3 separate regions of the Homo sapiens genome follow, and all the other regions are linked to region 3. The links are contacts of gene promoters, found by promoter capture Hi-C in human tissues and cell types (Jung and others, 2019). All regions are on one chromosome and are shown on one strand. Each heading gives the region's core, a stretch centred on a gene start or on the middle of the fragment in contact. The rest is flanking DNA. Distances are from core to core; before and after follow the strand shown.

Region 1 (4,045 bases), core at 1,305-3,804, 46 kb after region 3:
ATAAGGTGAGTATCTCAAAATCACTTCCACAAAGTTTCAGAAAGATGGTGAGCAGATTCTGGGTTTTATTTCTTTATATTGAGAAGTTCCTTTTGGCTTTATGCTTTTGAAATGTAATCCAAAACAGACTGTGAAATAGTTTTATTAACACATTAAGCTAATGCTCACAGAGTCATAAAAATATTAAATTACCAAGTATGCAAGGTAAGTTATGATTAGGCTGAAAATAACAGTCACAGAATCTGAGTGGCAGCATCATTAATAAGTCACTTTTTTTCCCCCATGCCTTCCTTTAAGGCTGCTTAGACACCCTATAACTCTCTTTTAAATATTTCTAGAAAGGGAAATTCCACAGCTTTCTTCAAAATCTACATCCCAATCTTGATAGGAAGTTCATAGATCTATCTGATTTTAGTCAACCTACTACTAAACACTCTTTCTCTCAATAATCAAGGGAACATGTAGAACTACTACTCACTACCCTCTGTGTGTTCTATAAGTACATAGCTTTTACATTTTATCAAAAATGAAAGGGGTACTCACAGCTAGACACCAGTGTACTCCCAGGTGAATGGGCACCAAAAGAATGTCAACAGAAAATACATCTACTTTCTTTGTCCAACGTTTCACTGCCTGATAACCAGCCGTTTTTAATTTAGTGAAGAAAAAGGTATTAAATGCATGCACACTTGGCAAGCCCTTCTCTTTACTTCGCTCCATCAGCATATTCATGTAGAAATTGATGATCTGTGGGAAGAAATTACACCTATTAGAATAGACACTCAGGCCTAGCCTTTCAAAATAGTTGCAGTTGCTGTGTTGAATAGCATATGTAATTGTTTCCTAATAAACTGAATTAAGTCTTCAACATCCAACAGATTCATTTCTCTAAATCAAATTCTGACTAGAAGGGGGAAGGCTGAAGTGCTATAAATGGTGAAAAGAGAAAAAGCTGACATATATATTATGGGGTTGGGAGTACAAATGGGCAGACGCTGGCCAGGCTTGTAGAAGACTGAAGGTTAGGTCAAAAGACTGCAGGAAGACAGGGGTGTTAAGGTGAGGCTTACAGAAAAGGAGAGGAAGGCATGCAAGCAGTTTAATAATGCACATTAGCAGTTACCTTTATCTACTGGAACTGTGTGAGCAATTTAAGTAGATACTGAGCTCAGTTAGCGCCTAGTGTTAGTCAAGTTAAAATCAAGAACTCAAATTTTATATGACAGCCACATGGTTTTACACAAAGATGGAAAACTCTGCTCCATGGTTAAAGACTGCCTTTTCAACTTAATAACCCATCCTGCAGAGGCAAACTCTTTTGGTCTCAAGTAGAACTAAGTGACAGGAGAAGCCATTAATTATACTGGAAAAACACCTGTAAACTGATAGTAGCTCAGCAATGTCACCTTTATATAAAGGCACACATGGAAGTATAAAAACCTACCTTATATGAGACCTAAAGTCAAGTCACAAACATGAAGAATAACGTTCTACCCCAGAATCTATATGGTTAGCTTTCTCATCTTTGTTGATTCCATTTATGCCTTCAATATTAAGTGTGGAAAGAAATTACAATGGCTGAGTGGGGAGATGTGTGATTCTTTGTTAATGAAACGACATCTTCTCTAATAGTGACTATGTTGTGTATGGTTCCATTAGGTCCAGGACTCTTTGGTACTAAAACTTGAAAGTTATCGTGCCGGAAGTTACTGCATACTTACTTTATGTGGCCAGCTGAGGTCAGGCCAGTGTCTGTCAACTGCAAGGAATGAATGGGCTAACTGATCCACGGCTTGGAAATATGACTAAGAAAACAGGCACATTTTTCAGAATGCTTTTTGGGGAATGGGAAAATGCCCCTGTTCTTTGACAAATATTTACACACCAGGATGCCAGAACAGTGAGCTACTGCCCAACAGTAAGCAACGACATACTGGGTAGGCAGCAGGGGAACACTGCCAGGAACACACCGGAGCACGGTCTAGACCAGAGAAAGGGCCTATAGATGAGGATGCCTAGGCAGCTGCGGGAAAACCACACTCGCCATGAGGCAGAGCTCTGAGGTAGGGGAAGGCTAGGACTGAAGAAAGACACTGTTTTCTCTGCAGCTGATGACTGAGCAACAGGCCCAGTCAGCCCAAAGGACTCAGGTTGTGGCTTATTCTCTGCCTAGTGTGATGCCCAATAGATAACTGGAGATCAGTTGTTACAGATAATAATTAATCAAGACACAATTAGAATCAGGTATTTCTTAACTATAAGTTTTCAGTCTAACTCTGCCCCTCAGGATAATGGTGCTAAAGACTGCCTCTAGGTTTCCGAAGGCAGCCATAAATGCAGTAGGATCTTCCCAGCAAGTACAGATTTCTAGGCTGTAAACTATGTTCTCTAATGAGGAAAAATTGGCAAGAAGGAATTCACTGATTCCTCTGGCCTTCTACCCATCTTATAATGTTGGCCATGTTATAGGGTAAACCCTTCAATCCAAGACATAAGCAGATGATCTGCCAGTTACTGTAAGCGAAACCTTCCATAGGGGCAGACAGCTTATATATTCCAACAAGAAATAAGGACTGAAGCAGGAGGTGAAAGGAATCAGGCAGAGAGATAAGGACGGTGAAGCACATGACAGCCATGGAAATACATCTCCCCTAGGTGCCTATCAGAGATTACCTCTGGAATCGTAAGTCTGAAGTGAAAAAAAAAAAAAAGAATGACATAAATGAGTGTCATGCTATACATCACTATTCTATTTTTCAAGAGGAAAGAGTTCCAGAAACCAAGGAAGCTTAGCTGGACTTACACAGCCTGAGTTTTGCTTGTTTTTTCACCTTCAGAGGGTTCACTAGAAAGCTAAAGACCAACACAGCTGAACAAGAACAGAGAACCCCAGTCATCAGACACCATGGTATCTGTTCCCTTTGAGAATTCCTCTTCCATTGCTGCACCCAACCAAAGTTTCTCAACTGAGAGGAAAATGGCCTCCAAAGTCAACTAGTTAATTAGCTCTAAGGAATGATCTGGGTTCTTTTTCATTTCCCCTAGATCCCAGTAGAAGGGAGTTTGGTGACCTCAATGCTCCCCACATTAGCTGAGAATGTAAATCTGACATCCAAGGCAGAATCTGGATTCAAGTCTTTCTCCTCAATTTTTTTAGCTATTACACCATCCAAATGAGGAAAATTGCCATAGTTCAGCCAAGACACAATTAAACCAAAAAAATGAGCTAAGAGAGAACAAAAAAGTCCTACATGTCATCTCACAGAGGAGGGCTGAAGATGAAGGAAAAAGAAATGAGAGAAGGGATCACAGTGTTCAAGATGAAAGAGGAGCAGTGATGGTCACAGCATTTGCTTGACTTTTGTGAAGACAACTGTCCCCGACGCCAAGTTGGCAACAGCCCTTTCCTCAAACAAGACTCTCTTAGCACCAGCAGATCCTAAATTCCCTTTGAAATGAGCTAAAAGTAGATGAGTCCTGTGCTTGCTATTTGTCTCACCAATATACCACAATCTGAGGACTAACTGTCAACATTAGTCCACCTGTCACCTTTTCTGGGACCCACACTTGCCTCTATTTGCTCACTGTGGCTCTTGGTGCTTAAGGAGCTACCCTTCCTGCTGCCTTTGCAGCCTTGGCCATAAGCATCTACTTGTCTATGCAGTCATGTTTAGGGATGGGTGGGTTGTTTATAGTGCCTTGTTCCTTTGAGATTTTATTTGAAGAGCTGCCAGGCTGAAGCTGAAAAAAGCTTTTCTTTCAGAGAAAAGCCTACAATGTTTTCAAACTAAGGATTCAATCTTTTTCCTGTACATTACCACAATGACATAAACGACCAATGCTATTTGTATCTTCCTTCTTCCCCAGTAAACCAGCCAAACTATTGTTTTCTCATGTTTTTAGAAATAAAACATTTCACTACCAGTAAAGTCTTGATTTTTAGCCATTCTCATGCTTATAGTTTGAACTCTTCTAATTAGCTTGAGAAAAAATGTTCTAAAAGGCCTGGGCATGACAATACTTCTGAGCAGAGATCAAGACAACT
Region 2 (3,809 bases), core at 98-2,597, 41 kb before region 3:
TGCCTTTTTTGTGGAGGTCTGGGGAAGGGGGGGCCCTACTACCGAATGAATCTACTCCTTGGTGCCTCTTGGCACCTAATTGGCTTGCAAAGCTCAGCTGTGGGGTCCGTTCCTGCGAGAAGCCAGCAGGACTCCCCATGGAAGGTTTCCCCCAGGCTGGGCCCCTCTGACTTGTGAGACTTCCAGCAGCACTTTTATCTACAGTATTGGAGGGGTCTGATGAAGCCTCTGGGTTCCCCTCCTGGACTGAAGACAGGTTCTGATATAATTGCCGGACGGGTTCTCCTTGCCCGTTGCCCAGAGCTGATTCATCAAGACAGGGGAATTGCAATGGAGATTTTAATTCATGCAGAGCCGGCTGAATGAGATACCAGAGTTTTATCACTCAAATAAGTCTCCCCGATAATTCAGAGACTGGGGTTTTTTAAGGATAATTCGGCTGGTAGGTATCAGGCAGTGGGGAGTGCTGATTGGTCAGGTTGGAGATGAAATCATAGGGGGGTCTAAGTGGGTTCTTCTTGCTGTTTTCTGTTCCTGGGTGGGATTGCAGAACTGGCTGAGCCAGATAACTGGTCTAGGTACTGCCAGCTGGTGCCTCAGAATGCAGGGTCTGAAAAATATCCCCAGCACCGATCTTAGATTTTACAATAGTGATGTTATCCCTTGGAGCAATAGGGAAGGTTTGGAATCTTGTGACCTCTGTCTGGATGACTCCTAAACCATAATTTCTAATCTTGTGGCTAATTTGTTAGTCTTACAAAGGCAGTCTGGTCCCCAGGCAAGAAGGGGGTTTGTTTTGGGGAAGGGCTGTTATCTTTGCTTCGAAGTTCAACTATAAACTAAATTCCTCCCAAAGTTAGTTTGGCCTATACCCAGGAATGAACAAGGGCAGTTCGGAGGTTAGAAGCAAGACGGAACTGGGTAAGTCAGATCTCTTTCACTGTCATAATTTTCTCACTTACAATTTTTGCAAAGGCAGTTTATCCGAATGCTCCGCATGTGTGTACCCTCAGCGACTACACAGCTCCTGTACTATAAAGAATATTTCAGAATGGCTTCGGTAGCCGGCAGCACCTTCCTCCTCTCGCAGCAGAGAAGTGTTTTGCTCTGGAAACTTGACTGGAGCCTTTCCCAGCCTATCTAGCGAACAGCAGAGCATCATCCCGACTCCGCGGACTACCGCGGCCCAACAGCAAGGGTCGCGGCTCCCCGGCGCTCTCTGCCGCCCTCTACCGGAACCGAGGGAGCCAGACAGCTGCGATATTGGGAAGGCCTCCGGAGCCGCGAAGAGCGCACGCGCGAGCGCGCGCCCGCGTTCTCCTGGCGGGCTTGGTATTTGGCGCCTGCGCGCTGAGTGCGTGCCGCTCCGCCGACCGAAGAGGCTGGTAAGTCCTCAAGCTGGCAGGTGGTCGGGGGAGCGGCCGGAGAGGAGCTGCCGGGAGTTCGTGCCCTGCAGGTCTGCGACGCTGGCGTTCGCTCCTGCCTGGGCCACTTTGGTGGGCTCAGAGCATCGCTTTTTGCCAAGGGGCGTGACCTGAGCCCGCCTCCTGGGGCTGGGGGGTGGAGAGGAATGGGAATCGTTAAGGCCGGTTATCAATTTGGTGCCTGTTTGTTGCTCGAGGAGGGGCATAGAGCTTACAAATAGTGAAGAGGAAGGGGCGAGGCTGGACCAGGTGGGAGCGGGGGTGCCCCAAGTCCCAGGGCGGTGAGGATCGAGGCAGGTGCGTGAAAGGCAGGCCCCGTTCCCCCTCCCCACCCCCGCCGGCTGTGTGTGGCGGGTAAGAGGAGAGTGGGTAGCACTACTACAAAATGAGGGTCCCGATAGAAATCGTACAGGTGTTGGGACCACACTCAGGGCGGCAACTTGTCATTTTTGCGTTTTTAATTTTCTTATAGAAACAAGCGATTTCTGTCGTGATTCACTGGGGCCGCTAACGTGCACTCCCTCTTTTCATCTTAGGACATGACACCAGTGGCATATCACGGCCATGGGGTCTCAGCATTCCGCTGCTGCTCGCCCCTCCTCCTGCAGGCGAAAGCAAGAAGATGACAGGGACGGTTTGCTGGCTGAACGAGAGCAGGAAGAAGCCATTGCTCAGTTCCCATATGTGGAATTCACCGGGAGAGATAGCATCACCTGTCTCACGTGCCAGGGGACAGGCTACATTCCAACAGGTGATCATGGAGGGATGATTCCCTGATGAGAATCCCAAGGTACCCTCGGAGTTCTCCTGTCTGCCCAGACAACTTTTCTTCTAGGCAGTAATACCATAATAGAGACAGTGCCCTGGACAGGAGCCAGCTCAACTGACTTAATACACTTGGGCAGTTCTGCAACTTCTCTTCCTCTCCTTATTTTTCCAACCCTTTCTTTTCTTTACCGCCACTCTTGTTCTTTTCCTGAGGTTTGGAACATTCAGTTCGCTCTGTGTTGTGGGATTTGTTGACAGGCACATTTCTTTATCGCTGTCACAAGGATTGGGACAGCTTTGCGGGGGAACCATCTTGGAAGCTGCTTTTCAAGGAAATGGGTAGCTAATCCTTAACAGCCTAAGGTCAGAAAAATATATCAGGTCAAGAGAGAGAGACAAATACTTAGCCTTGGTACAGGATCATCTATTACTATTAACAAATTGGCCCTCAGAAAGTCTTTAACAGTTTAGCTGGAGAGTCACAGAAATTTAGAGCTGGTTAGGACCTTCAAAATCATTTACTCCAAAGCTTCCATATGAAAGGCAAGGAAACCATGGCCTTGAGAGATTCGACGACTCTGCCAAGCCCATGCAGTAAAGCCAGAACAGGATCCCAGGTTTTTCAACTTCCACATCACTACCCTGGCAGCACTGATAGATGTTTTATAATTTGTGGCACTCTCTTGTTTCTTGTTCATTAGACCCAACATGTGAATTTCACTAGTATTTTTTAAAATGTCTCATTCCAGAAGAATATTTGTTGTGGCAGGCTCAAGTGAGACGTGAAGGAAGTACTGCCAACACATGGGATTTACAAAATAATTGTTTGGCTCTTTTCTAGAGCAAGTAAATGAGTTGGTGGCTTTGATCCCACACAGTGATCAGAGATTGCGCCCTCAGCGAACGTGAGTTACCTGCTTCTCACCTGTTAATACCTACTTCTGTCCCTAATCTCTTTCTGTATGTATGAATGCCAGTTAATTCTTTGAAAACTACACATGTTCTTATAAGTTCCCCATTTTCCTTATAACTGTTTGCCCAAGCAAGATATCTCTGCCCCCATCACAATCTGGGGAAAGAAACTTGAAGCTGGAAATGCTTTGAAGGTCAAGGAATGGAATCAGAAGAAACTGGGAAAGTGGAGTGTTCTGGGAGGTGTGGGACTGTCTCTGTCCACATAGCTCCTTTCTTCAGCTTTTCTTCCCAGAGTGCAAACAGTGTTTAAAGGAGTTTTAAAAGGTTTCTCCTGCTTCACTGCTTCTTAACTGGTTTATGGTTCCTGGCTCTTGGAACTTCCCTTTCAGCTCCCTTCTCTTTCCTGGTTTTGTGTTTAATCTTGACACATTGAACCTTGATATCTGACTGCCTGGGTCGGTCATGTGCTGTGTCATTTGCAGTAAGCAATATGTCCTCCTGTCCATCCTGCTTTGTCTCCTGGCATCTGGTTTGGTGGTTTTCTTCCTGTTTCCGCATTCAGTCCTTGTGGATGATGACGGCATCAAAGTGGTGAAAGTCACATTTAATAAGCAAGACTCCCTTGTAATTCTCACCATCATGGTAAGCCTTAGGGTTTCATTCCCTGGGTTGTGCACCTGCCAGGCTGGGACCCAGGACACT
Region 3 (3,654 bases), core at 109-2,608:
TACCTAATACACTTTCCAGGCTTCGTTTGTCCTGAATATAATCCCAGACAGTGGACCTTACCAAAGGAGGGGTAGAAAGGTGCAGTCCGAACAGCATTTGGACCCGACTACAAGAGCCATCTCTAACTATACCGGTTGAAATAGTTGTAGCAACCGTAGCAATCGACCAGCCTGCTCCCCTTCCCTGACACACACATACACACACACACACGCACACACACACACACCACGCAGCCTGGCTCGGTGAGTTCCAGAATTTAGAAAAGTAACTCATTGTAGTACCTCGGGGCGGCGGGGAATGGGGTAAGACCGCGGGGAAGGGGGCGCTATTTTCGGGGGCATTTGAAAAGCACGGTCTGGTTGGAATGTTATCGTCTTTCAGATGGCCTCTCCTACTGGAAGTTTCTGTACCCTTTATCAGAAGAGAGGCGCAGGCGGACGGAGGGAAGTCGAGATGAGCGCTAGGGCTGCACCTTGCTCCAGGGCCAGCTGGGAGGGGGAGGGTACCCTAAAGAGGCGCTGAGGTCTCAGAGGGCCTATCGGAAGCCGTTCTTTGTGGCCTGGGATTTCAGCCCACCAGTGTCAGAGTGTTAGTCCCCTTTGTCTAACTCTGCTTTGAGCCCACCAGCCACCAAGCCTTGGACAGGCTGTGAAGTCAACCCTTTGGCGTTTGCTTGCTCCCTCGCTCGCGCTCTCTCTTTCCTACTTCACCTAAGTTCGATGAGTTGAGATCTGTTTTTGCTGAACTCGAAGTGCTTCGAAGAGGCGAGCTGTGTGCATGTGCGCCTAATTATCAAAGCTGGTGGAAAAGAGCCCATTTATATCTGTGCGCAAACTTCTCCGAGCCAACACTTTGCAAGTTCAGTATTCTAGCGCAACGTAGGGACCTGCAAATACTTGCAACTGCGATGGGCACCGAGGACCCTGGGACAGAGTCCTTGATTGGCAGAACTCTTCTTGGTGAACTTCTGCGTGTCCTGTGCCTAAGTCGGCGCGCTACGACCCCGGGAGCCGTTTTAGCCCGGAGCCGCGGGCTCCAGAGCTGGAGCGGGCCGGGGAGAAGGATGCTGAGGGACGCATGGAAAGCAGGCAGGCAGGCAGGGGCGGGGGAAGACTTACGGACATCCTGGCCCTGACACCGAAGGACAGCGGCGACGAGCAGCGTCAGCAGCACCAGCGTCTGGGGAGCCCCGAGGCGAATCATGGCTCACCGCGGGGCCTGGCTGAGCCGGGCCCGGGCGGAGCGCAGCGAAACGGCAGGAGCACGGCGCGGGTCCGGGTCTCTACCGCGCCCTCATGCAGGAGGCCCTTGGAGCAGGAGGGGGAAGCGGGAGACCCGGCAGCCCAGCAGCGCTCTGCGTCTTCTCCCCGCCGCGGCGCCCGTTATATGCGCCCGGCCCCTTTCGAGGCTGGCGAACTCGCCCAAACCGCGGGCCGCCCCCTGCCCCCCGCTGGGCTGTAACCTGAACCGCCCGCCCCCGGAGCCCGCCTGGGCCCTGCCAGTGCCCGCACCTGCCCAAGCCGGACCCCCCTCTCTGGGAGTCACGCTTCCCGCCCTCCACCCCTAGTGCGCCGAGTGGCCTGATCGGGCGGGGCGCAGAGATGGCCCCTGCCCCCCAAACCCGGGGCTGCGGCGCTGCCCCCCTCTGACCACAGGCGGGAAGGGTGGCCTCCGGCCCCTCCCCTCGGAGTTCTGCCGGAGTTGGAGGGGAGGGGGTGTTTGCAGAGGCGCAGGCCGAGAGCCCTAGACCAAGGACGGAAAAGACATGGGAGGGAGGAGGGAAAGCGGTAGAAAGGAGCAGCGGAGGGCGAGGGGGCACCGCGTCAGGCGTTTGGGAGTGGGGACAGGGAGGAGCCCACAGAGATTCAGAGTCCTAAATCTTGGAGACAGGCTAGCTGAGCCAGATCTGAAGGGTTACCCCGACCTATCTTTTAGCCCTTCCCTGCAGTACCTGGTCCCCAGACTCCCACCTGGACGTTCACAGCGACTGCCCTCCACCCCTCCCCCATCCAGCTCTGCGTTGAAGGCTTCCTCTGGAGCACAGGCCGAAGTTGGCCTGAGCCGACAGCCAGGAAAAGAGCTGGTGTGTTACTGCACAGAAGGAGACCTGTGTGAAGGTGTGGGGGGCAGGGGCAGGCCCTGGGAAGGGGACTGAAAGAGCCACAGAGGACGGAGGGAGCCGAGACTAAACGGTGCAAGCTGCCTGCTGTGGGGGGACTGTCTAGCTCCAGGCTCAGACGTGGTGTCTGCTCTTCCTGGCTGGGGTCCGGGAGTCCCCCGGGGAGTGGGCACTGCCGGCCGTCGTAGAGCAGCTTTGGCCAGGGACGGTTGGTCACTGCTGCGGCCCTGGCCAGGGATCGGGGAGGCCGATCCAGCTGGCGAGTTCTGTGAGCCGGGGAGAAGCGCCAGAATTTCCCAGTCGGCCCCCTAGCCCTCCGCTTGCCGCCTCACCTCACCTTCCCCGGTGAGCGCCCTCTCTCACCTTAGCCAAACTGCCTTCTTCCCAGGGCTTAGCTGGTCTCTTCTCTTGGTCTCCGGTGCCTCCTTTCATACCAGGGAGGAAACGTCCCCAAACAGACCTTCCTTTTGAGCGATATGGTCCCCCAAAGAACTATAGGCAAAATGAAACTCAGAATTTGGGGTCTGACTTAACCAGAACTTCTGCCCTCCTGGGCAGTTTTGTTTCTCTGGAGCTTTCCCCCTAGAAGCTGAGAGCACTTGAAAGAAGCTACTTCTGGGCCTTAGGCTTCCACCAGGGGTCCTGGGACCCCATCCCTAGCCTATCATGCTTTGACACTTGTCCTGGTAGAGGCTGGAGTTCCAAGTGCTCTGGTTGGAAAGGGAAAGAACTCATTGTTGAAGGAAATGCTTCTAGGCTTTGTCCAGTCTGGATGGAGATGGGGAAGAATTCAACCAGTTTCCAGCATCTCCCCTACCTTCCACGGGCCTTGTCTGAGTCTCCATGCTCCCATTCAGGGGCTTGCATTAAGCTCTGGGCTCTTCCTCAGGCCCAATCTCTGCTAGAAGAAAGCTGGTCTCTTGCCATCAGTGCCCCATGTCCTCTTTGGGGCTCAGAAGGTCCTATATTCTCTACCTGGAAGATAGAATGACCAAATTCCACACATTTATCAAGACCTCCTAGGTTAAAGCCCCTCTGAGAAGCCTTCTCTGATATCTCTAGAACACAACGTCTCCCTGGCTTTCTGAATCCCCCTGGCATTTATAGCCTAAGCTACATATGTTTTTGTGTAGTTTTAATTTTTTCCCCTTATATCCATTGGTCTTTATCTCATCAATGAGCTTGGAAGATGCTTGGGGACAAGAACTGTGCCTAGCACAATTCTAACACATAGGAGTTAGGAAAGCCCCTGTGGACTAATAATTTAGATACAACTATAAAGGCATTTATACAACTGACTTCAAATACAAGTTGTCATAAAAATTCAACAGAAAAAAAAAGAATTTGGGAGAACACACTAAAGTATGTGGAAAAAATCGAAGCCTAGTTCAAAATGATCCAGTTTAGTGAGTAGCAAAGTGGTACAGACTCGTTGCAAATTTGTTCTTAATTTCATCCTCTAGCTCTGTGATTCATCTTTGCCAATAGACTGTGTCTACATATAAGAGCTTTGGATTCCTTCCAGCAATCATGG

What was found. The method cuts DNA at HindIII sites, captures the fragments that hold promoters and counts their contacts. A contact is called where the count stands out against the background at its distance.
Region 1: a contact is called between a fragment that was not itself captured here and the fragment with the promoter of COL2A1 in region 3, in 1 of the 25 tissues and cell types used here (pancreas).
Region 2: a contact is called between the fragment with the promoter of TMEM106C here and the fragment with the promoter of COL2A1 in region 3, in 1 of the 25 tissues and cell types used here (pancreas).

What each region holds. Positions count from the first base shown.
Region 1 is chr12:48,048,386-48,052,430 of GRCh38, forward strand. It overlaps SENP1 (SUMO specific peptidase 1), which reads right to left. Exons shown (of 18, transcript NM_001267594.2): 14 at 544-747. Among named protein-coding and RNA genes, the nearest start is that of COL2A1, 46 kb to the left of the region's middle. The HindIII fragment of the contact is 3,952 bases long and covers 579-4,045 here.
Region 2 is chr12:47,962,249-47,966,057 of GRCh38, forward strand. TMEM106C (transmembrane protein 106C) reads left to right here and starts at 1,348. Exons shown (of 8, transcript NM_001143842.2): 1 at 1,348-1,456; 2 at 1,961-2,175; 3 at 3,034-3,097; 4 at 3,590-3,749. The coding sequence starts at 1,989. The HindIII fragment of the contact is 8,708 bases long and covers 1-3,809 here.
Region 3 is chr12:48,003,118-48,006,771 of GRCh38, forward strand. COL2A1 (collagen type II alpha 1 chain) reads right to left here and starts at 1,359. Exons shown (of 54, transcript NM_001844.5): 1 at 1,120-1,359. The coding sequence starts at 1,204. The HindIII fragment of the contact is 28,746 bases long and covers 1-3,654 here.